Linked DNA regions of Homo sapiens: regions 1, 2 and 3 are each linked to region 4. The links are contacts of gene promoters, found by promoter capture Hi-C in blood cells and fetal thymus (Javierre and others, 2016). All regions are on one chromosome and are shown on one strand. The core of a region is centred on a gene start or on the middle of the fragment in contact, and the rest is flanking DNA. Distances in the headings are between cores, read along the strand shown.

Region 1 (5,600 bases), core at 2,536-5,035, 140 kb before region 4:
TTATGGACTAATTGAAGAACTATGTTGTTAAAGTTATTTTTATTTATTTATTTTTGAGACAGAGTTTCACTCTTGTTGTCCAGGCTGGAGTACAATGGTGCAATCTCAGCTCACTGCAACCTCCGATTCCCAGGTTCAAGCGATTCTCCTGCCTCAGCCTCCCTAGTAGCTGGGAATACAGGCGCGTGCCACTATGCCCAGCTAATTTTTTTGTATTTTTAGTAGAGACGAGGTTTCACCATGTTGGCCAGGCTGGTCTCAAACTCCTGACCTCAGGTGATTCGCCCACCTCAGCCTCCCAAAGTGCTGGGATTACAGGCATGGGCCACTATGCCCCGCATATATTGGTAAATTTAAATTAAGACAGTGAATTAGTGTACTTCAGTGGGAACCAGCTAAGCACCTTTGTCTATTGGGAGCAGCAGAGACAGTTTAATTTTTAAGAAACAGCTCCTTCTCTGAGTTCAAACATAGCTTCCTACTGAGAAATCATTTGGGAAGGAGGAGATACACAGCGGAAGATTTCAAATAAGCCACATGAACATCTTCCAGCTTCTTGATGCTGACCAGCTTAAAGTCGATTTTATATTTTCAATGTCACAGTTATAATTAGTTAATATATGTACTTAATTAGTTATATGTTATTAAAATTATTCAATACACTCTGAACATTTCTTTTCTATAAATTATATCACAAATTTTTTTCCAAATATTCATGATTGACCATCATCTCTTAGTGACTTCAGATTTAGTTCAAAAATTGGCTGATTAGTAAAACAATAAAATTATGTTGTTCTGATTACTAAAAATATCTGAAAACATAACAACCATTTGAAAATTGCCTTCTACAAGTATGTTTTGAAAACTTTAAATTTTTAATAAAGCAAGATATGTTTCATAGAAAAACTTCAATCTGACTGGCCATTTAAATTTTGATGTCGGCCCCCTGCAGGGGCTCACGTTCGTAATCCCAGCACATTGGGAGACCGAGGCAGGTGGATTACCTGAACTCAGGAGCTCAAGACCAGCCTGGACAACATGGCAAAACTCTGTTTCTACAAAAAAATATAAAAAGTAGTTGGGGCCAGGCACGGTGGCTCACACCTGTAATCCCAACACTTTGGGAGGCCAAGGTGGGTGGATCACCTGAGGTCAGGAGTTCGAGACCAGCCTGGCCAACGTGGTGAAACGCCGTCTCTACTAAAAATAAAAAAAATTAGCTGAGTGTGGTGGCGGGCACCTGTAATCCCAGCTACTCGGGAGGCTGAGGCAGGAGAATCGCTTGAGCCCGGGAGGTGGAGGTTGCAGTGAGCCGAGATTGTGCCATTGCACTCCAGCCTGGGTGACAGAGTGAGACTCGTCTCAAAAAAATAAAATAAAATAAAATAAAATAAAATAAAATAAAATAAATTAGTTGGGCGTGGTGGTTCACGCTCCCAGCTACTGGGAAAGCTGAGGTGGGAAGATCACTTGAGCCTGGGAGGTTGAGGCTACAGTAAGCCCTTTTTGAGCCACTGCACTCCAGCCTGGATGGCAAAGCAAGAACCTGTCTCCAAATAACTAAATAAATAAATCTTGGCCGGGCACGGTGGCTCACGCCTGTAATCCCAACACTTTGGGAGGCTGAGGCAGGCAGATCACCTGAGGTCAGCAGTTCGAGACTAGCCTGGCCAACATGGTGAAACTTCGTCTCTACTAAAAATACAAAAATTAGCTGGGCGTGGTGGCGGGCACTTGTAATCCCAGCTACTTGGGAGCCTGAGGCAGGAGAATCACTTGAACCCGGGGGAGGTTGCAGTGAGCGGAGATCGTTCCAGTGCACTCCAGCCTGGGCAACAAAGCAAAACTTCATCTCAAAAAAAAAAAAAAAAAAAAAAGCTGGGCACAGTGACTCACGCCAATAATCTTAGCACTTTAGGAGGTCAAGGTGGGCGGATCACTTGAGGTCAGGGGATCGAGACCAACCTGGCCAACATGGTGAAACCCCATCTCTACTAAAAATACAAAAATTAGCTGGGCATGGTGGTGTGTGCCTGTAATCCCAGCTACTGGTGAGGCTGAGGCATGAGGATAGCTTGAACTGGGAGGTGGAGGTTGCAGTGAGCCAAGATCATGCAACTGCACTCCAGCCTGGGCAACAAAGTGAGACTCCATCTCAAATAAATAAATAAATAAATAAATATTGAGCTAATCGATATTAACATCTACTTCTTCCATGTGGACAGCAGGGACAAGAGAGGTATAAGAGAGCTACATTCTAAGCTGGGCGCTGTGGCTCACACCTGTAATCCTGGCACTTTGGGAGGCTCAGGTGGGCGGATTGCTTGAGCCCAGGAGTTCAAGACCAGCCTGGACAACATAGACTCCATCGCTACAAAAAAAAAAAAAAAAAAAAAAAAATACGGTTGGGGGCGGTGGCTCACGCCTGTAATCCCAGCACTTTGGGAGGCTGAGGCGGGCAGATCACGAGGTCAGGAGATGGAGACCATCCTGGCTAACACAGTGAAACCCCGTCTCTACTGAAAATACAAAAAAAATCACCCGGGCATGGTGGTGGGTGCCTGTAGTCCCAGCTACTCAAGCAGGAGAATGGCGTGAATCCGGGAGGTGGAGCTTGCAGTCAACCGAGACCGCGCCACTGCACTCCAGCCTGGGCGACACAGTGAGACTCCGTCTCAAAAAATAAAAAAATAAAAACAAAAATTAGCAGGGTGCAGTGGTGCACGCCTGTAATCCCAGCTACTGAGGAGGCTGAGGCAAGGAGGATTGCTTGAGTCCAGGAGGCGGAGGTTGCAGTGAGCCAAGATCACGCCACTGGACTCCAGCCTGGGTGACAGTGTGAGACTCTTAAAAAAGAAAAAAAAAAAAGAGAGAGCACCACATTCTAATCTCCCATAGCGTGAAGTTAATAAACAAATGTTTCAACTGAAAAAATTAACGAAGAGCAGCACAAATGTGTTATTTAGAAATATGGAGACAAACAGAGAAGAAACAGCTGTGAGATTTGAAACAGACTGTCTCTAGACAGGAGTCAGAGGCCAAAGAAAAGTGAGGCAGGAGAATGCTGTTTTGTTTTTAAGGACACACCTCGCAAAAATATTCAACTTTTAAAACTACGTACCGGACAAATGGAGCAACAGAGACCAGGTTCACCCTAACACCTAACATAACCCCCTCCCCCCACCAGAAAGGGAGAAAATACGTGAGACGCATGGTTTTCAATGAGGGGTAGCGCCTGCTGTGCACAGGAAAGCGAGCGAGTGGGTCTGCACCAGCTCAGTGCCTCAAGGGCTTAGGGGGCCTGCCAGAACCCGAGGTGCAGAAATGGGGGCCGAGAGTCTGGGGAGATCGCCGTCTAGCTGGCCGGACAGAGTAGCAGAGAAGAGAGGGCTGTACACAGAGAACTCCAGAAATGGGTGGCAGGTTTCCTGGGTAGTCAGCAGAGTCCTGGTTGGCCCGTGTGTGTGTGTGGACACGATCTGAGGCCAGGGTGAGAATCATCTGAGAAGGCCAGAGGGAACCATGCCTGTGTTTACAGCAAGCTTGAAATAGTACCTGTTTCTACCAGTCAGATGGGAAAAATTCATATTCATGGGGCACGAGGTAGAACAGTCTGTCAGGTCTCGATTCAGTATTGGGAATAACTACACCTAGACTAAATGCAGCTCTCTGATTCTCTAATAAATCTTAAAAGCAACACACCAAAAGATCAAACTGTCTCCAAGTTAACTGTATCCCTGAAAAAAGCTCAAGAATAATTACAGGATTACAAAAGTTTCTAGCACCCAACGAGGTACGAATCCCAATGTCTGGCATTCGGTCCGAGGGCCAGGCATGAAAAGCAGCAGGAAAATATGATCCATGATCGGAGAGGCCGGGATCAACTGACGGAAACAAATCCGGACCTAACACAGACACCAGAATCCACAGACAAGGACCTTACAACAAATACTGTCATTGTGCTCTGTATGTCCCAAAAATTAAGCAGAGATGTAGATGAGTTTTTAAAGACCCAAAATCAAGCTTCTAGGGATAAAAACTATACTATCTGAGAAGAAAAATACACTCAATGGGATTAACAGCAGATTAGGCACTGCCTGAGAAACCATTAGTGAACTTGAACGGCTAGCAATAGAAAGTATACACAATGGCCAGGCACAGTAGCTTATGCCTGTAATTCAGCCTTTTGAGAGGCTAAGGCAGGAGGATTGAGGCCAGGAGTTTGAGACCAGCCTGGGCAACAAAGTGAGACCCCGCCCCTACAAATAAAAAGAAAAGAAATGAGCCGGGCGTGGTGGCACTGCCGTCCCAGCCCCAGTCCAGGCAGTCCACAGGCAGGCCCGGCACTCCACCTCCCAGACTACAGGTGCAGCCTGCAGTCCCAACTACTTGGGAGGCTGAGGCAGGAGGATTGCTGGAGGCCAGGAATTCAAGACCAGTGTGGGCAACATGGCAGGACTCCATGTCCACAAAAAATAAAATTAGGCCAATTATGGTGGCTCACGCCTTTAACCCCAGCACTTTGGGAGGCTGAGGCGGGCAGATCATGACGTCAAGAGATGGAGACCATCCTGGCCAACATGGTGAAACCCTATCTCTACTAAAAATACAAAAATCAGCTGAGCATGGTGATGCGTGCCTGTAGCCCTAGCTACTCAGGAGGCTGAGGCAGGAGAATCGCTTGAACCTGGGAGGCGGAGGTTGCAGTGAGCCGAGATCACGCCACTGCACTCCAGCCTGGCAACAGAGTGAGACTTCGTCTCAAAAATAAATAAATAAATAAAAAACAAAATAAAATTAGCTGGGCGTGGTGGCACATGCCTGTAGTCCCAGCTACTCAGGAGGCGGAGGTGGGAGGATTGCTTGAGCCCAAGGTGTTGAGGCTGCACTGAGCCGTGAATGTACCACTGTACTCCAGCCTGGGCAACAGAGCAAGATGTTGTCTCTAGGAGAGAAAAAACAAAACAAAACAAAAAAAACGCCAAAGTGGCTATGCTAATATCAAAGCAGACTTCAAAGCACAGAATTTCCCAGGGATAAAATCATTTCATAATAATAAGAGTCAACTCATCAAGTGGACACAAGAATTCTAAATTATATAGATATTTAATAATACAGCTTTGAAATACATGAAGCAAAAACTAATAGAACTGCAGAGAGACAGAGAAACTTACAATTATTACAGTTAGAGATTTCAATATCCCTCTCAGTAAATGACAGAACAAGTAAACAGAAAAACAGTAAAGATATAGAAAAACTGAATAACACAATTTACCGACTCGACCTAATTGACATTTGTAAGACTCTGCCCAACAACAGAATACACATTCTTTTCAAGTACACACAGAATTTACCAAGAGAGACCATAATCTGGACATAAAATAAGACTCAAGGCTGGGGAAGGTGGGTCACTCCTGTAATCCCAGCACTTTGGGAGGCCAAGGCAGGCAGATCATCCGAGGTCAGGAGTTTGACACCAGCCTGGCTAACACGGCAAAACCCTGTCTTTACTAAAAATACAAAAATTAGCCAGGCATGGTGGCAGGCACCTGTAGTCCTAGCTACCTGGGAGGCTGAGATAGGAGAATCGCTTGAACCTG
Region 2 (5,932 bases), core at 375-2,874, 170 kb before region 4:
CCCAATAGCAGGTGCTCACTTTATGTCTCTGTGTCACATAAAGACAGTAATTCTTGCAAGATTTCAAACTTTTTCATTATATATGTATTTTTTGAGACAGAGTCTCGCTCTGTCGCCCAGGCTGGGGTGCAGTGAGTGGTGTAATCTCTGATCACTGCAGCCTCCACCTCCCAGGTTCAAGTGATTCTCCTGCCTCAGCCACCCAAGTAGCTGGGACTACAGGCGTGCACTACCACGCCTGGCTAATTTTTGTATTTTTTAGTAGAGATGGGGTTTTGCCATGTTGGGTAGGCTGGTCTCGAACTCCAAACCTCAAGTGATCCACCCACCTTGGCCTCCCGAAGTGCTAGGATTATAGGAGTAAGCCACCATGCCTGGCCCTTTTTCATTATTATCATATCTGTTATGGTGATTTTTTTTTTTTTTCTGAGACGGAGTCTCGCTCTGTCACCAGGCTGGAGTGCAGTGGCATGATCTCAGCTCACTGAAATCTCCGCCTCCCAGGGTCAAACGATTCTCCTGCCTCAGCCTCCCGAGAAGCTGGGACTACAGGCATGCACCACTACGCCCAGCTAATTTTTGTATTTTTAGTAGAGACGGGGTTTTAACCACGTTGGTCAGGATGGTCTCGATCTCCTGACTTCAGGTGATCCGCCTGCCTCAGCCTCCCAAAGTGCTGGGATTACAGGAATGAGCCACCGCGCCTGGCCTACAGTGATCTTTAACGTCACTATTGTAGTTGTTCTGGGGTGCCACCAACTACACCCATATAAGATGGGGAACTTATATTGATGAATGTTGTATGTATGCTGACTGATCCTCCAATCAAGTATTCCTGTCTCTCTTCTTTGAATACACAAATAAGAAAGCAAACAGCCTTACTGCTGATATGGAGTAAGCTGTAGTGGTCTAGATAGAATATCAAGCAAGCCACAACATTCTCTTAAGCCAAAGCCTAACCCAGAGCAAGGCCTCACCTTTCTTCAATTCTGTGAAGGCTGAGAGAGGTCAGGAAGCTGCAGAAGAGGCCAGGTGCAGTGGCTCACACCTGTAATCCCAGCACTTTGGGAGGCAGAGGCAACATGATTGCCTAAGCCAAGGAGTTCGATACCAGCCAGGCAACATAGTGAGACCTAGTCTCTACAAAAATCTGTCAGGGCACGGTGGTGTGCACCTGTAGTCCCAGCTACTCCAGAGGCTGAGGTGAGCTGTGATTGCACCACTGCACTCCAGCCTGGGTGACAGAGTGAGACTCTGTCTCAAAAAAAAAAAAAAAAAAAGCTGCAGAAGAAAAGATGGCAGCCAGCAGATGTTGGTTCATGAGGTTTAAGGAAATAAGCCGTCACCATAACAAAAGTGCAAGGTGAAGCAGCAAGTGCTGATGGAGAAGCTGCAGCAAGTTATCCAGAAGATCTAGCTAGGACCACCAATGAAGGTGGCTGCACTCAACAACAGATTTTCAACGTAGACAGAATAGCCTTCTGGAAGAAGATGCCATCAAGAACATTCGTCCTAGAGAGTAGAAATCAATGCCTGGCTTCAAAGCTTCAAAGGAAAGGCTGACTCTCCTGTTAGGCGCGAATGCAGCTGGGGACTATAAGGTGAAGCCAGTGCTCATTGACCATGTCAAAAATCTTAGGGCTCATAAGAACTATGCTAAATCTACTTTGCCTCTGCTTTATAAATAGAATATCAAAGCTTGGATGACAGCATATCTATTTATAGTGTAGTTTATTGAATATTTTAAGCCCACTGTTGAGACCTACTACTCAGAAAAAGAGACTCCTTTAAAAATATGACTGCTCATTGACAATGCACCTGTTCACCCGAGAGCTCAATGGAGACACACAGTACGAGGAGATTAATATATTGACAATGCACCTGTTCACACAAGAGCTCAATGGAGACACACAGTACAAGGAGATTAATATATTGACAATGCACCTGTTCACCCAAGGGCTCAATGGAGACACACAGTACAAGGAGATTAATATATTGACAATGCACCTGTTCACCCGAGGGCTCAATGGAGATGCACAGAACAAGGAGATTAATATTGTTTTCATGCTTGATAACAACATCTATTCTGCAGCCCATGCAAATCAAGGAGTAATTTTGACTTTTTAAGTCTAAGAGACATATTTCATGAGGCGATAGTTGCCACAGTGATTCCTCTGATGGATCTGGGGAAAGTAAATTGAAAACCTGAAAAGGATTCACCATTCTAGATGCTATTAAGAACAGTTGGCTGGGCACAGTCGCTCACACCTGTAACTCCTGGCACTTTGAGAGGTTGAGGCAGGGAGATCCCTTGAGCCCAGGAGTTTGAGAGCAGCCTGGGCAACATGACACAACTCAGTCTCTACAAAAAATACAATTAGCCAGGTGTGGCAGCACCTGTAGTCCCAGCTTGGGAGCCTGGGGAGGTTGAGACTGCAGTGAGCTGTGATCAAGCCAGTGCACTCCAGCCTGAGTGACAGAATGAGACCCTGTCTCAAGTTAAAAAAAAAAGGAACATTCATGATTCATGGGAGGAGATCAAAATCCCAACATCAACGGGAGTTTGGAACAAGTTGATTCCAACCCTCAAGGTAGACACTGAGGCTTCAAGACTTTGGTGGAGGAGGGATCTGTAGATGTGACGAAAATAACGAGAGAACTAGAATTACAAATGGAGCCTGAAAATGGGCCTGAACTGCTGTAATCTCACGATCAAACTTGAACGGATAAGGAGCTGCTCCTTACGATGGGCAAGGAAAGTGCTTTCTTGAGATGAAATCTCTTGTGGTGAGAACGCTGTGAGCATTGTTGAAATGACGACAAAGGATTTAGAATTTGCATAAGCTTGGCTGATAAAGCAGTGACAGGACCTGAGAGGGAGAGACTCCAGTTTGAAAAAGTTCTCCTGTGGGTAAAATGCTGTCAAACAGCATCGCCGGCTATGGAGAAAGCTTTTGTGAAAGGAAGAGTCAACCAATGTGGCACACTTCACTGCTGTCTTATTTTAAGAAACTGCCAAAGACACGCCGATGTTCAGCAACCATCGCCGTGACTGCTCAGCCATCAACCCTGAAACAAACCCCCACCAGCAAGAAGATTACGACTCAGATGATTGTCAGCATTTTTCAGCAATAAAGTTTTTGTTTCAAGAGAAGGGGTCTTCCATGTTGCTCAGTCGAACTCCTGGGCTCATGTAATCCACCTGCCTCAGCCTCCTGGGTAGCTGGGATTACAGAGAACCGAAAGAGTGGGTGTCCCATGACAGGACAACGAGGATCTGTCCAGTGTTTAATTCTTGAGATGTTCTATAAGAGCACTTAAGAGCTGCTGTTGACAATGATGGATAAGGGTATACAGTGAAATGAGACAGGAGGAATGAAACCTACACTGTATATGATGAAAATAAAAGAGCAGGCGTAAAGGAGAAATAAATGATCTAAATACTAAACTGCTGGCAGAACACAGGCTTAGATCAAGATGGGAGGAGGGTCATTAAATACAAACACTGAAAGGAAAAAGCTGCAACTAAAAGTCAAATGTCAGGGCCAATCCTTGTCCGGGAATGCCGGCAGCTCTCAGCCTATGAGGTTAATACACTATTCTACAGCCAGGAACAGCACCCGTGAAACTGCCTCATGTCTGACCTGAGGCGGACTAACGCTCATCTCAAAAAACATCTTTTTGATATGTGGGCGCTTAAATTTGCAGGAAGGATCACAGGAAAGAAACGTGGACCCGAAAGCAGGTGATATTATACCACAAAGCTTGACTGTCACCCCTGCTCCAAGATCCCTCTAGGAATTGACTCTAAGAGTTCTTCAGACTCTCCTGCCTCCAGTCCCCTGAGGGGTAACACATATTCCCATGAGCACACCTGGCTGCTTCCCTCTGCCAGTGATTCTCAACCCCCATGCCACGCTCAGGTCACAGCCCCGGGTAAGAATTACGGCTCTGACAGCTGGTGCTGGAAACCAAGTTTCTAAATCCATCCTTCTGCACACTTTACAGCCCTTTGTGAAGGTGGTTAGGAATGCTGGGTACCTTGTCGCCTTGGCCCAGGTTCTCGGATTTGACCTCATACAAGGTTTTCCAGTTGGTGTTACTCCCTCCGACTCCGCCGCTCTTTAGATCAGAGATGGAAACACCATCTAAGGCTTGTCCTTCTGCGTCAAACCTGAAAACGTGAACGAATAACGATGACGAGCGCTTGATGTGACATGCTTCTGCTTCTCCACATGCAACTTGCTGCTACGCGACAGACACAGGTTTCCCACCACCCGCCCAGCTTTCACACAGGTCACGGTCATGTCGGCTGAAGCTGGTATCTTCGTAATTATATATTTTTTATAATATTTAAATTAAAAAAAATTGTGTCAGAGTTTCACTCTGTCACCCAGGCTGGAGTGCAATGATGCAATCATGGCTCAAGGCAGCTTTGACCCCCTGAGCTCAGTGATCCTCCCACCTTTGCCCTGCTAAGTAACTGGGACTTCCATGCCCAGGCCCATTAAAAAAATTTTTTTTAGGCTGGGCGCAGTGGCTCATGCCTGTAACCCCAGCATTTTGGGAGGATGAGGCGGGCGGATCACGAGGTCAAGAGATCAAGACTATCCTGGCCAACATGGTGAAACCCCGTCTCTACTAAAAATACAAAATTAGCCGGGCGTGGTGGTGGGTGCCTGTAATCCCAGCTACTCGGGAGGCTGAGGCAGGAGAATCACTTGTAGGCAATTCTCAGGAGGCGGAGGTTGCAGTGAGCCGAGATGGCGCCATTGCACTCCAGCCTGGGCAACAAGACCGAAACTCCGTCTCGAAAAAAAAATTTTTTTAAGAGATGGGGTCTTGCTCTGTTGGCCAGGCTGATCTCAAACTCCTGGACTCAGACAATCCTCCTCCCTCGGCCTCCCAAAGTGCTGGGATTACAGGGCGTGAGGCACTGCTCCTGGCCCAAAGTCTACTGAAGAAACGGAATGACCTTTCTTTGAATCTCAGTTGCTTTGATGCCCCCCAGTGGTGAAGAGAATCAGTGCCAAAGTACCAAAGAATCTTTTCTTAAACTAGCCTTGCATATTGGCAGTGGCCAGACCACCCCAGGCCTAAAATCAGAAACTGGGAAAGTCAACAACCCGTAAGCTATAAAGTGGCCGTCTGGGGTAGTCCTTTAATCTGCTAATGCTCATTCTCAGGCAGCAGCTGCGTGGTGATCATCACCGAAATGTACCAGTGTGGAAACGGACAGCCAATATACCGTGGTAGCAAAAGTGTTTCCATAAAAGGCCTCCTATGCCTGATACAGAAGCCAAAAGTGGTTTTTTTGTTTTGAGACAGAGTCTTGCTTTGTCACCCAGGATGGAGTGTGGTGGTACCAACTTGGCTCGCTGCAACCTCCACCTCCTGGCAAGTGATTCTCGTGCCTCAGCCTCCCGAGTAGCTGGGACTACAGGCACGCACCGAGTAGCTGGGACTACAGGCCCGGCTGATTTTTGTATTTTTTGTAGAGACGAGGTTTCACCATGTTGGCCAGGCTGGTCTTGAACTCCTGGCCTCAAGCAATTGTCCACCTCGGCCTCCCAAAGTGCTGGAATTAAGGTATGAGCCACCGTGCCTGGCCCAAAAGATTTTATAAACCAGAGCAACTTATCAGAAGGCATTATCTTTTTTCTTGTAGATTTACCTTCTTAGTGAAATTTTACTTTTGCTAATATCGAAGCTAAATTAATTTGTATTAAATTATTATGAAAACTGATTGTACTTCTTGATCACACATCAATTGATATGAAGGAAAAGGGGCCAAGGAGAAAGTGGCTCGGGAACACAGTGGTGGCGGAGAGGAGCTGGCCGGAGATGAAAGGCCAAATACCATCCCAAGGTGGGTAACCACACAAAGAACAGGTTCCTTAAACAGAGACCATCTAACAGAATGGATGTTACC
Region 3 (6,354 bases), core at 1-2,500, 160 kb after region 4:
TCCCAGATTGCCAAAGTTGTGGAGTCTGTTTTTCTTAGTTGAATGTCTTAGTTCTCTGGGATAGGTGAACAGATCTCAAGAGCAAGGAACATCATCGCAGGTCTGAGGAGGCTAGATTCCCAGTCCTGTTGGAGTTTTTTAAATCTGATTTAATGATCTGACCCTCCCACTCCTATCTCTGCCCCATCCGAGTCTGGCTGCTTTCCCAGGGGGCAGAGCAGCTGTGCCAAAAGGAACTCTAACGTGAAAAGCGCCCTTCACTTGTAGCTTGTGCAGGCCAGTCTTGCTTACCCCTTTAGATTAACAAAACTGCCTTCACTTGTCTCATTGGGATTAAAGGATCAGAATATCAAGAGAGATTGAAGGGGGAAGATGCCAGCCAACAGGCTGATCCTCTTAGAACCTGCCCTCTGATTCCTGCAGCTGAAGAGAAACCAAATGAAGGCGATTAGTCTCTGCCTGGGGTCCCCCTTCCCAAGTGGTACCACTAGCTGGGAACCTCGCCCCCTCCACCAGGCCCTCTCCCCAGCCTGTCCTTTAGGATTGCTGAGTCAGTGGTTAGATGTTCTTACGGCTCTTCTCTGAAACGGAGTTACTGCTCCTTCTTAGGCACCCCTGGCTCAGCCAAGCCCTGACCCACCTGACGGGTTTTCATGTGTGCCTAGCTGGGTGGTGGACTTGGAGAGGCACAGGGACAGCTTGGGGCTCCAGGGGGGCATTGAGGCAGCACTGATGCAGCTTAGGATTAGCAAGGTCAAGGTGACTGGCTTTCACCCATATGTTCCTCTGTATGGATTTCACTGAGCCTCGATTGCTGCCCCTTTTCATGGCATTTTGTTCTGGGATTTTGCTTTGAAAGTTAGGGCTCTTTCAGCCTTGTGGTGAGCAGTGAATTGTCCTCGTCCTCTGCTTCACTTTCCAGATTTTGCCCAGAAATTTCCCTGCAGTGCTTAGGAAGCTGCCTGGTAGAGCAGGTTTCTAAGTTTGAGGCGAAGCAGCTCTGGAAGCTGCCTCTGTCCTTGCTGTTGGAGGCAGTGATTTAAGTAGCAGTTGCCTAGAGATACATCCTTTCTGTTTTAATCTCAAAGAGAGAAAAACCCAGTCCCTGTAATCCCAGCTACTTCGGAGGCTGAGGCAGGAGGCAGGAGGCAGGAGAATCACTTGAACCCAGGAGGCGGAGGTTGCAGTGACCTGAGATCGCACCACTGTGCGATCTCTGTCTAAAAAAAAAAAAAAAAAAAAAAAAAAATAGAGAAACACCCTTGTCTTCCCCCCGGGGGTGCCAGGAGTTGGGCATAGAGCTCGAGGAAACCCTTTGTCCCCCTCCACCCCCCAGCATGTTGGGTAATCCCATAGCTTTTTTCCTTTTTCTCATACTCCCTAAGCAGCCATGCCTGATTAGCACCGGCAGCGGTAGGAAAGACACATCCGTTGGTGTAGACATAATTTCCTGCCTCAAATGTTGCTGTTCATTTTCTTTTCACCTTGTTTTCTCCTCTGGACAGCTTCTCAGAGAAGAAGGCGGAAGGGCTAAGTCTGGGCACTGCCTAGGTCATTGGCCCATCCTGACAGGGTCAGAGGAGGCCAATCATGTTGACTGGTGACTTGATAGGGTGGCATGTGACCCAAATAAAGGAAAACTAGGTTTTTGCCATGTAGTAAGTGCCAACACAGAGGGTGCACCCAGCCGGCACAGACTGTGGGGCAGGAATCTGTAATATCTCATGTGGGAAGCAGGAATACTTGCTTGGCCCCACCAGGAATCTGGAAAATGTCAAGAGGTTTCATTGCCTGAAAGAGCTACTTGCGGGGTGAGGAGAGGCCTAAGACTAGAGAAGAAGCGAGTAGATGAGCCAGTTTTACGATAGAGGTTGCGGATTTCACAGAGCGCTGAGCACCTTTCTTTGACAAGAAATCAAGTCTTAGGATCTATTTAAATGGGTGAGATCCAGTGATTTCTAGCAACCAACCTAGGTCTTCTGGGGTCTTAATACCAGAAGCAGGCTTAGCACAAAAGCTCCTTTGGACTCTAATCTGTTTTCTGCGTGGTGGTGTCAGGTTAAGTAGACTCACCTGCCTCTTTAAATCCTGATGGATTGACTGGGAACGGTGGCTCATGCTTATAATCTCAGCACTTTGGCAGGCCAAGGTGGGAGGATGGCTTGAGACCAGGAGTTTTGAGACCAGCCTGGGCAACATAGCAAGACCCTGTCTCTACCAAAAAAAATAAATAAATAAAAATAAACCCTGATGGGTGGTGTGAAAATGAGAAGGATGAACTAAACACGTCTGATGGGTCAAGAGGGGCCATGGAGCAGCACTGTCAGTTGCTTTGGGTGGGTTTGGGCAAGGCCTGATGTGAAACTCCAGAACCAGCTCCTGCATGAGGAGACCCCAGGGAGATCCAGTTAGACACTTACTGGCAGCTGGATTACGTGTAACCGTTGAGAAGGGTCCGTGTTGAGAATAACATCTGTCTCTGTCCTTTAGTATCAAGTGGGGCAGCTGTATTCTGTGGCTGAGGCCAGTAAAAATGAAACGGGTGGTGGCGAAGGCGTGGAGGTCCTGGTGAATGAGCCCTACGAGAAGGACGGTGAGAAAGGCCAGTACACACACAAGATCTACCACCTGCAGAGGTATGCGGCATGAGCAGCGGGGCCGGATGCTGGCTTTTGTGTGTGTGTGAATGAGTGTTATTTCCTTTATTGTTTTATATAGATGGGATTATACTAATTGTTATATCCTAACAATTAATAGTTATATACTGACTGTATAAATGTTATACTCACATTTATATAGATGGGAATATACTATTCCTTTTTTGTTGTTACTTATCATGGCCTCCTCTCCCAGCCTGTTCTGTCTGCCTCGGTCTCTGAAGTCCGTGTAGGATTCACAGTATCATGGGGGACAGAAGTGCTATAGGTTGTTGAACCCTCCTGTCTTGACGCATATTTCTAGTCATTTCCAGATGCCTACATAATCCAGTAAAACTCCTTCTGTGTAGATCTTCTGATGTACTTGTATATGCAGATTTTTAGCAAATATTCCTAAAATTGAATTCCTAGAATTGCTGGGCTGGTAGGGTTTTTAATTCTGATATCGTGAAATCGATCGCTAGAGAAATTTTGGTACCTCTCTTTGGATCAAAGGCATCAGCATTTTTAAATGAAGCTTGAACTGATTTGTGTACTGGAATCCATATCAAACTACACAAATTTGCTAAATCCCTAACGAAAACAGTAATGTTTCAGCAAACTGTGAGCAGACCCAAAGGGCGTTGATGGTATTAATTATACATCAGCTTGAGTGGAAGTCAAACCAAGCTAGTTTTAGAAGCTATCCAGAACTGGTAAAGGTAAACCTGAATCTTTTTAAAAATTGTGATAAAGTACACGTAACATAAAATTCACCATTTTAACCATTTTTAAGTATACAGTTCAGTGACATTTAAGTCCATCCACACTGCTGTGAAACTGAAAGCTGGATCTTAATTTCTAGTCTCTAAACTGAACTGAAATCAATTGACTTTCATTTGGAAAAAGCCCCACTTCACTGTGGTCTGTCACTTTGATGGTGTCAGAGGGTCCAGGACCTCAGTGCCAGGGTGCGAGGAGAGCAGTGCTGTGCAGTGGGGAGGAACCTCACCATCACCCAGTCTCCTCGCCAGAGGGTCCAGGACCTCAGTACCGGGGTGCGAGGAGAGCAGCGCTGTCCAGCGGGGAGGAGTCTCACCATCACCCAGTCTCCTCACCGTCACCCAGTCTCCTCGCCAGAGGGTCCAGGACCTCAGTGCCGGGGTGCGAGGAGAGCAGTGCTGTCCAGCGGGGAGGAACCTCACCATCACTCAGTCTCCTCACCAGCACACTTTTTCTCCATGTCTCGTTTTGCTCCTCCTCTGGTATTTGTATTTCTTAAAGAGGATTTTGAAAAGAGATGGTGAAGTTGGTATTTTAGGTAGAAGGGACCAATTGTTTCCTCAAGACTAAGTTGGTCCAACCAAACTGACAGAGACGAGGTCTCTACATATGAAAGATGGAACCTGGCCGGGTGCTTCGGGGGCTCACGCCTGTAATCCCAGCACTTTGGGAGGCCGAGACGGATGGATCACTTGAGGTCAGGAGTTTGAGACCAGCCTGGGCAACATAGCGAGACTCCATCTCTACAAAAAATAAACAAAATTAGGCTGGTGTGGTGGCGAGTGTCTGTAGTCCTGTCTACTCAGGAGGCTGAGGTGGAAGGATCACCCGAGCCCAAGAGGTCAGGGCTGCAGTAAGCCATGGTCACGCCACTGCACTCCAGCCTGGGCCACAGAATGAGATCCCGCCTGTCTCTTACAAAAAAAAAAAAAGAAAAAAAAGAAAAAGAAAAGGCCAGCAGTGACTGCCACCACTACCTCTCCCCATGGTGACAAGAGAAGCTTTACTGTGTCAGCCATCTGGCTGCCCAAAGCAGAAAGCAGAGCTCCCCTGCAGTACTCTCACTCGCCCTTCTTATCGCATCAGGCCCCGCTGACTCCGCCCCGCAACACTCTCACTCGCCCTTCGTGTCCCATCAGGTCCCGCTGACTCCGCCCCGCAATACTCTCACTCGCCCTTCGTGTCCCATCAGGTCCCGCTGACTCCGCCCCGCAACACTCTCACTTGCCCTTCGTGTCCCATCAGGTCCTGCTGACTCCATCTCCTCAGCGTCTCCAACATGTCCCTTCCTTGCCACCTCTTGCCTGGATTACTACAGCAGCTTCTAACGAGTCTCCCTGCCTTTCAGTTCTCCGCACCGCTTCAAGTGTTCAGTCTGGATGGTCTGTCACTCCCAGCGCCAAAACTGCTGACGGCTTCCCTTTGCCTTCAGGACGAAGTCCGTGCTGTCTGACATAACTTATAGGACCTTTTAGCCAGCCTGGGCAACATAGCAAGACCCTGTCTCTACCAGAAAATACAAAAATGAGCCAGGCATAGTGGTGTGCACCTGTAGTCCCAGCTACTTGGGAGGCTGAGGTGGGAGGATCACCTGAGCCCAGGAAGTCAAGGCTGCCAGTGAGCCATGATCACACCACTGCACTCCAGCCTGGGCCACAGAGTGAGACCCTGTCTCAAAAAAAAAACAAAAAAATCTTTTAGGATCCAGCTTCAGGTGTCTCCTTGAATTCCCCACCTTGTACCTGCACCGGTTACTCTGAACTTGTCCCTCTTTTCTCCAGCTTTTCCCACCCCACTCCCATCTGTCTCTTAGCTTAGCCCCACTCATTGTCCCATGTGTTGGTTCATCCTGACTTTCCTCGCAGAGCCTGCCCGGTGCACTGCATGTCCCCCACTGTGTTCTCACAGCACTCCGCCACCCAGGGCCCTGTGCCCACCGCATTATGGCATGAACTTACAGTGTTGTGCTTGGCCTTGTCTAGTTACACGCCCCAGTAGACCGGAAACTCCTTGAGGGTGGGAGCCACATCTGTTTGGTTTCTCTGTGTGTCCCCCTGCCTGGACCTAGAAATACTCGCCTGAATGGGGATGGCAGTGAGTTCGTGAATCACAGAGGCCGCCCCAAGTGCTCCAGGTTAGCTCTCTGCTCTAGTTTGCTCTTCTTTCTTAGGCCTGAGGCACTAAAGCTGATGAGGTTGCCAGAGCTTGCCAAAGACTGGACAGATTATCTGTTAGAAACCAAGGACGGCTGGGCGCGGTGGCTCACGCCTGTAATCCCCGCACTTTAGGAGGCTGAGGCAGGCAGATTGCCCGAGGTCAGGAGTTCGAGACCAGCCTGGCCTACATGACAAAACCCCATCTCTACCAAAAATACAAAAATTAGCTGGGCGTGGTGGCGCATGCCTGTAGTCCCAGCTACTTAGGAGGCTGAGGAAGGAGGATTGCTGGAACCCAGGAGATGGAGGAAGCAATGAGCTGAGGTCGTGCCACTGCACTCCAGCCTGGCGACAGAGCAAGGCTCCATCTCAAAAAACAAAAACAAACAAAAAAAAGGAAAAGGAATATATGTACCATTTTCATTTTAATTTTAAAAAATCTTTCTAGGCCAGGCACGGTGGCTCACGCCACTGTAATCTCAGCACTTTGGGAGGCTGAGGCGGGCAGATCATGAGCTCAGGAGATTGAGACCATCCTGTCTAACATGGCGAAACCCTGTCTTTACTAAAAATACAAAAAATTAGCCGGGCGTGGTGGCGGGAACCTGTAGTCCCTTCTACTCGGGAGGCTGAGGCAGGAGAATCTCTTGAACCTGGGAGGAGGAGCTTGCAGTGAGCCAAGATCGAGCCACTACACTCCAGCTTGGGTGACACAGCAAGACTGTCTCAAAAAAAAAAAAAAAATTCTAAATGTTTTCCTACTCCGTCAAACCACACAC
Region 4 (6,385 bases), core at 1,257-3,756:
CTGCTCAATTTCTCCACGCCTTGCCAAGTCAGTCCTAGGACTTCACACTAAGCTTGTCCTGGAGTGACCCTGACTCCCAACTCAGGATCGAGGCAAAATATTTACCTGGGTCTTCCCAGCACTTCCCAGCCAAAGACGCTGGCTTCTGGGGCCAACGTGTCCCACCTGCAGTCCTTGAGCAATTAGGACCCTTGCTATGGGGGGTGGCCATGTGGGCAGGGCACCGCCAAAAGCCAAAAATGGAGCGGCCCAGGGACCAGGTGGCAGCTGAGAACAGTTAGAAGTGGAGTGAATGCGGCCGGGCGCGGTGGCTCACACGCCTATAATCCTAGCACTTTGGGAGACCGAGGCGGGTGGATCACCTGAGGTGAGGAGTTCGAGACCAGCCTGGCCCACATGGCAAAACACCATCTCTACTAAAAATACAAAAATTAGCTGGGAGTGGTAGCGCACGCCTGTAATCCCAGCTACTCAGGAGGCTGAAGGAGGAGAATCGCTTGAACCCGGGAGGTGGAGGTTGCAGTGAGCCGAGATCGCGCCACTGCACTCCAGCCTGGGCAACAGAGCGAGACTCTGTCTCAAAAACAGAAAAAAAAAAAATAAATAAGGAGGTGGAGTAAATGGGCAAAAGCAGGAGGATCCCATCAGCAGACACCTGTCCATGGAGGAATAGGGCAACTTGAGTAGGAAGTAGGGGGCGGCTGGCCTGAGAAGCAGCGTTCTGAACCCCAAGTTTGCTTCCCATAGCCATTCCTCCTCCCCAGGCTTGGTCCTCGGGTTCACTGTACCCTCCCCAGCGCCAGCCACCATTCTGGACCTCCCCAGTACTGGCCTTCCCCTAGACCAGGGAGGGTCTAGACCACAGAGTCTGAATTTACTGTGCTAACAGGAAATACCTCTCTTTCCAAGCCCAGAGCCTCTGAAGAACTAAGGAGCAGAGCGGGGTTGGGGTTGGGGGAGACAGTCTTGGAGTGATGGGGGAAAAGAAAGATCATACAATCACATCCCCCACGTTCTTTCCTTCACCACCCATGGGAGTGGATAAGGGGATGGAGGAGGGTAAGCAAGGAGGAGGATGTGGTAACAGCTGATTCGTCCCCAGAGGTCACACTTTCCAACAATCAGCTGTTACTGGGGCGCAAGGCAGGAAGTTTCCTTAAAGGCGCAATGTCCTGAACGCAGGCTCAGAATTTTGGAGCTCCAAGTGAACCTTATCAATTACCTGATGGAGTGCGTATTTAACAGAAGGAAGGATCTCACCCTCCAGCCTCATCATTCCTGCTTAGTTACCCTCAGCCCCTATTTGGAGCTGAAGGAAAAGGCATGGATTTCAGTCCACATGTTCCTCTTTGGGGGACTTGCGGGGATTGATAAGGTAGGGCAGGTCTCCGGCTTGCCCCTTTAAAAACGCCGACCAGCAGCTTTTGCCAAGTCACTGGGTTCATTTCACTTTTTGCCCATCCCCCGCTCATCTAGACTCTGATTGGCCCCTGGGGAAGGAGCAGCCTGCTCATTGGTCTCCACCTTCGAATCTCTTCCCTAAGTAGGCCTGAGTCAGTGAAGAGCTTTGGAGGGCGGGACTGAATGGGGGTTAATCAGAGGATGCGATTGCTGACCCTTTGCACTTTGGCATGGCCCATCCCCTAATTTCTGACCAGAAGCCCTCCCTCTACCCTAAGGTGAGGACTGTGCTATGAATCTTTTGTTAGAAAGCTACCTCTTGGGAGGCTCTGGGGGCTCTTCTGGGACTGGGAAGAGACATCCAAGAAAAAAAGCCTCCTGTGGTTAGGAAGAGCCCCCAGGAGGAGTGGGCTGGGCGAGGCGAGCACCCTCCCTCCTCCAAAAACCCTGGAGAGCTCTCCAACGGCAGTCTCTGCTGCCCTGGGGGCTGACGCTCTGCCCACTCCTGCTCCTTGGTCCGCTCCACCTTTCCTTAAAGAGCTATAGCGTCCCGCAGAGGCCGGCGAGTCAGTTTGGGGAATGTCTAAAAGAAGCACTCACGACTCCAACAAGGAGGGGCTGTCGCCCTTTAAGGACTTCCCCGGGCTGGATTCCGAGCTCAGTTTAAAAATGCCAACTCACAGAGCGCGCTGGGTTCTGGGAACGACGGTGTCAGGCTGAGAACTACACGGACCAGCATGCATTGCAAACGCAGACGCCGTGGCTTTCGCCTGCTCTTTAGGACTCTCGTTTGACGTAGCGCTTTTCTAAGCGGGTCGCTGACGCGGAGGGCTGGGCCACACCTGTCCGTCTATTGGCCGGCTCCTCAGTGGGTGGGCGTGGCTTCGTGCAATTCCGCCCGGCAAAAGGGTGGCCTCCTTGCCAATCAGAGCCAGGGCGCCCGGAGAGGCGGGACCAGGGCGAGGCCCCGTCGGCCCCCGGGTGGGCGGGGCCACGTTGCCCAGCAGTGGGCGGTGATTGGCCCCGGGCCGTGCATTCGCAGCTCGTGCGTCACGACGCCGCCAGCTGATCGGAGCCTGGAGCCGGTGTGTGCTGGGTGCCGAGAAGAGACAGCGCCGCCGGCCGTGGGGAGCGGACGCAGTGATTTGCTCCCCCTCGTGCAGCAACCCCCACACCCAGCACCAGGTGGGTGTGAGCTGGCGACCCGGTCACGCAGCGGGGAGCCGCGGTAACGGGATGGAGGGTGAAAGTGGGGTCCGGGCGGCCACACCCAGCCCTTCCGGGAGGAGAAGGGGCGGCGGGGGCAGGGGCGCCTCGGGGAGAGGGGCCTGGACTGGCCGGGTTAGTGTGTCAGGAGCTACGAGGAAAGAGTCTGGGACGGGAGTCGTGGCGGAAGGGCTGGCGGAGTGGCGGGGGGCGGGGGGAGAGCCGAGGGGCCGGAGGGCCGGGGGCGGCTCACCCGGCGGCCCCCGGTCTGAGGATACAGGGGCCGGCCATCTAGCCTGGGGAGGGTCTGGACCCCCCGAGCGGGCGGCGAGGAGGTGCTTTGCCTCTGCCGGCGTTCACTGGGTCAGGGCCAGTTCAGCGCCCTGGCAGGGAAGGGGTCGCTGGGCGGGCCGGCCCCTCCTCTCGTTCTCTCCAGGGGATGTTATGTAAGGGGGGAGGGGAGAGGAGTAGGGGGCGGCGGTGCCGGGGCCTTATGCAACCCAAAGGTTAGGGTTTCACCGTGGTTGGGCGGGGGGAAGAGGGCAAGAGGAGGGCCTGGAAACTCTAACCCCCGCTCCCCAGACTAACTGGCCGTCTTGGGCCGAGAGAAGGTCACCTCTGCACCTCCCCCCAGCCTGTCCGATTGTGAGGCCCCTAGCCCAGGCCTGGCCCTGACTGCCTGGGAAGCCGGCTGGCTGGGTGGGGCGCCTGGGTTAGTCATCACTGGGCTGCCTCTCTCCCCACCTCTCGGCCAACTCTTGGCCCCTCCCCATGGCCTCCGGCGAGGCTGTCACCCCCACCTCCCTCCGGCCCTGGTTCCAGCCTCCAACTCCTTTGGCCTGTCATCCTGGCTGTCAGATTGGGCTAGGAGCTGTCAGAGTGCCAGAGGGTTGATGGAGCAGCTGGTCAGAGGGTCAGTGCCCTGGGCCCACCCCGCCCTGCAGCCAAGGGCACCTGCTTGGCACAGACTCTCAGCAGCTGCTGAGTCCTCTGGGTTGAACAGAGCTATCTCAGACAGAGGAAGGTCGGACGGAGTTGGACTGGTCACCCAGGGGAAGGAAGATACACAAAGTTCATGCCTCCCAAGAGGGTTTCGGAATTTGAACCGCACCCCGTATCCCCCAATCTTTCTTACCCTCTGAGTATAGAAATTCCAAGGCAAGACCGCCTTGGCCCCTCAGCCTGGCGTGGGCCATGCCCTTGGACTGAGTGTCAGCACGGACCCGCCCTCCCCAGCTCACATCCCCCGAGCCTGCCACGCCCCCAGCCCCCTCCCTGGGCCATGCTGCAGGGCCCGGCTTTTCCTGCTGATTCATGCGTTGGAACTGTGGGGGCGGGGCTTGGAACTTGGAACAAAGTTCAGACATGGAGGGGCCGGCAGACAGCCTGGAATTCATACCAGATGTACCCGGAATGCGCAAGCGGAATGCCTGGCATCTGAGAGTCCTGGGGAAGCTGCCCAGCCACCCTGCCCATACCTCCCTCCCCTCCAGCCTGTGGTCCCCTGCCCGCCCCTCACAGCCCCGGCCACCCTGCCGATACCTCCCTCCTCTCCAGCCTGTGGTCCCCTGTCCGCCCCTCACAGCCCCGGGGGCCTCTGCTGACCTTCTTTCAAACGCTAGGCCTCCTCCCTTCCTCACTCTTCCCCAATCCAGGCCCCCAGAACTCTCCTTCCAGCTGAACTCCCTGGGAACAAGTCAGTTGGGCTGATCACTGAACTCACATTTCTGGACCTGAGGTACCACACTTCTAGTACCTGCGTGCTGGTGGGGTGTGTCCAGGGTCCCGGGCCCCACCCTGTCTGAATGCTGAGGAGGCTGGGCCCCCAGGGGCCGCTAGGGCAGGGGAGGGTGAGAGCAGGACTGGGTTTCTCTAGACTCCAGTTCTGGAAAGAAGAGCAAGGGAAGTCTGTTTACAGCCACCTCTTGCTGCTCAGCGAGGTTAACAGCTTCCGCGGGCCCAGATCAGAGCTGCAGCCCTGCATTAGAATCTCAGAGGTCTACTGGGGCAGGACCCTGATGGCCAGCGAGTGGGTCAGCGTTGCAGCAACATGCCCTGCTCAGATCTTTCCCATTTTCCCTCCCTTTCCCTTAGGAGCCTGTTCCTCTCACGCCCTCACCTGGCTGAGCCGCAGTAGTTCTTCAGTGGCAAGCTTTATGTCCTGACCCAGCTAAAGCTGCCAGTTGAAGAACTGTTGCCCTCTGCCCCTGGCTTCGAGGAGGAGGAGGAGCTGCTTTCCCCATCATCTGGAAGGTGACAGAAATGGGCTGGGAAGGTCCGAACAGCAGGGTGGATGATACGTTTTGGGCAAGTTGGAGAGCCTTTGCCCAGATTGGCCCAGCAAGGAGCGGTTTTAGATTAGAGACACTGGCTGGATTGAGGAGTAGAAGGCTCAAACAACCCAAGGTTAGTTGGTCTTTGTGTGACAGTGGGAAGAAGTGGAGAGAACACTCTGTCTCCCCGACTTCCTTCTTGACCCTCCTTCCGTATCTTTCATTCTTCCCCACTGGCCTTTCCAGATGAGGTCCAAAAGTAAGCTCACTCTTCAGGGAAAAGTGATACTAAACCCAGGCGTGAGGAGTCATCCTTCTGCTCTTACTTTTCCCTGCATTTCCTTAGGCTGGCCCAGACTCTAGATTCCTGGGCACTTACCTGTATCTGAGACCCTTAGACCTCCTGTCTCAGTTTCTCCACCTGTGAGATGGGCAGTCACACAGATGAGTGTGCATGAGGGAATCAGAAGCCCATCTGGGTTGACTCAGAACCCGGGCTCTCCCCCTGCTGTGGGTGGAAACAAAACACCTTTTCACAGAAGCTGTTGTCCCTCCCCCATCCCTGATACCATCACCCAGAAGCTGGGTGGGGAATGGGAAGCTGGAGGAGGGGGTTAGAGTTAGACCAATGCGAGGAGCTAGTAAGAGCTCGCCTCTCCGTGACTTCCCCCCATGCAAGGGTGGCCCAAGGCTTCCCCTGATATCCAAAGCAGGACAGCAGCCCCTTGGTGGGATTCTAACTGCTGCTACTCTGTTTCTTTCCTCACTTTGCTTTCCAAGGTGGTATGTGATCCCCAGCTCAGGCCTGTGCAGACAGGAAATTCTCCCCTGCAGCAAGTAGGGGAGGTGGGTTGTGGGATGTGACCTCCTTCCAGATATCAGGCAGTGAGTGTAAACCTGCCACCTCCAGCCCTGATCCATTCTCACCTAGCGGCTACAGGAAGCTGTGTCTGTTCGATTTGGTGGGAGGAGATGTGCAGGGAGCTGTATCTTGTCCTCCGCTTGTGAAAAACTCAAGGATGTGGAGAAGAGTAGACCGTGGAACCCTGCTCTTCTGCAGCCAAGCTGAGGGGCAGGATGCGTGTGGGACAGTGGTAGAGAAGCAGGGGATAGACTCATAGGCTGCAACAAAGGTGACTCTGTCCCTGGACACTGCCTCCGTACTTTCTCCTTGCTTCACTGGCCACAGCATCTCCCTCCAGCCCTCGCTATGTGCCTCTGCCATCTTCACCCATCATGGAGCAGAGGTGAGGAGAGGCAGCCTGGGAATATGGAGACCAGTGAAGGACCAGGCCTGGAGAGCACAGGGTCCTACCTGGGCATCCAGCAGAGGAGCCCCTAAAGGCCAGGAGCACCCCAAGAGGAGGGAGGGCAGCCAGCCTCCATTGACGGCGAGCCTCCAGCCCTCTCCTACTTTGATCACCATTTCTCTCCAGGCTTTCTGCCTCCGAGATGTGGCACCATAGTGCGGTGCCCTGTGGCTTCACCGCCCTACTTCCACCTCC

Evidence for each region. Contacts are between HindIII fragments. The CHiCAGO score rates a contact against its expected background, and 5 or more counts as called.
Region 1: a fragment that was not itself captured here is called in contact with the fragment with the promoter of MIR22HG in region 4 in 15 of 17 cell types (M0 macrophages, M1 macrophages, erythroblasts and 12 more); the score reaches 20.9 in M0 macrophages.
Region 2: a contact is called between a fragment that was not itself captured here and the fragment with the promoter of MIR22HG in region 4, in 8 of 17 cell types (M1 macrophages, total CD8 T cells, M0 macrophages and 5 more). The highest score is 6.4, in M1 macrophages.
Region 3: a fragment that was not itself captured here is called in contact with the fragment with the promoter of MIR22HG in region 4 in 1 of 17 cell types (monocytes); the score reaches 5.1 in monocytes.

What each region holds. Positions count from the first base shown.
Region 1 is chr17:1,858,995-1,864,594 of GRCh38, reverse strand. The region is part of intron 5 of RPA1 (replication protein A1); the gene reads right to left. Among named protein-coding and RNA genes, the nearest start is that of RPA1, 32 kb to the right of the region's middle. The HindIII fragment of the contact is 481 bases long and covers 3,545-4,025 here.
Region 2 is chr17:1,882,054-1,887,985 of GRCh38, reverse strand. RPA1 (replication protein A1) reads right to left here. Exons shown (of 17, transcript NM_002945.5): 13 at 4,042-4,174. Among named protein-coding and RNA genes, the nearest start is that of RPA1, 55 kb to the right of the region's middle. RefSeq lists a silencer at 4,915-4,964. The HindIII fragment of the contact is 153 bases long and covers 1,548-1,700 here.
Region 3 is chr17:1,549,286-1,555,639 of GRCh38, reverse strand. PITPNA (phosphatidylinositol transfer protein alpha) reads left to right here. Exons shown (of 12, transcript NM_006224.4): 3 at 2,491-2,636. Among named protein-coding and RNA genes, the nearest start is that of PITPNA, 10 kb to the left of the region's middle. RefSeq lists an enhancer at 4,099-5,013. The HindIII fragment of the contact is 3,853 bases long and covers 1-3,176 here.
Region 4 is chr17:1,712,331-1,718,715 of GRCh38, reverse strand. MIR22HG (MIR22 host gene) reads left to right here and starts at 2,506. Exons shown (of 3, transcript NR_028505.2): 1 at 2,506-2,586; 2 at 4,702-5,013; 3 at 6,317-6,385. MIR22 (microRNA 22) reads left to right here and starts at 4,729; the gene lies at 4,729-4,813. It also overlaps a transcript of WDR81 not described here. RefSeq lists an enhancer at 1,718-2,359. The HindIII fragment of the contact is 4,707 bases long and covers 55-4,761 here.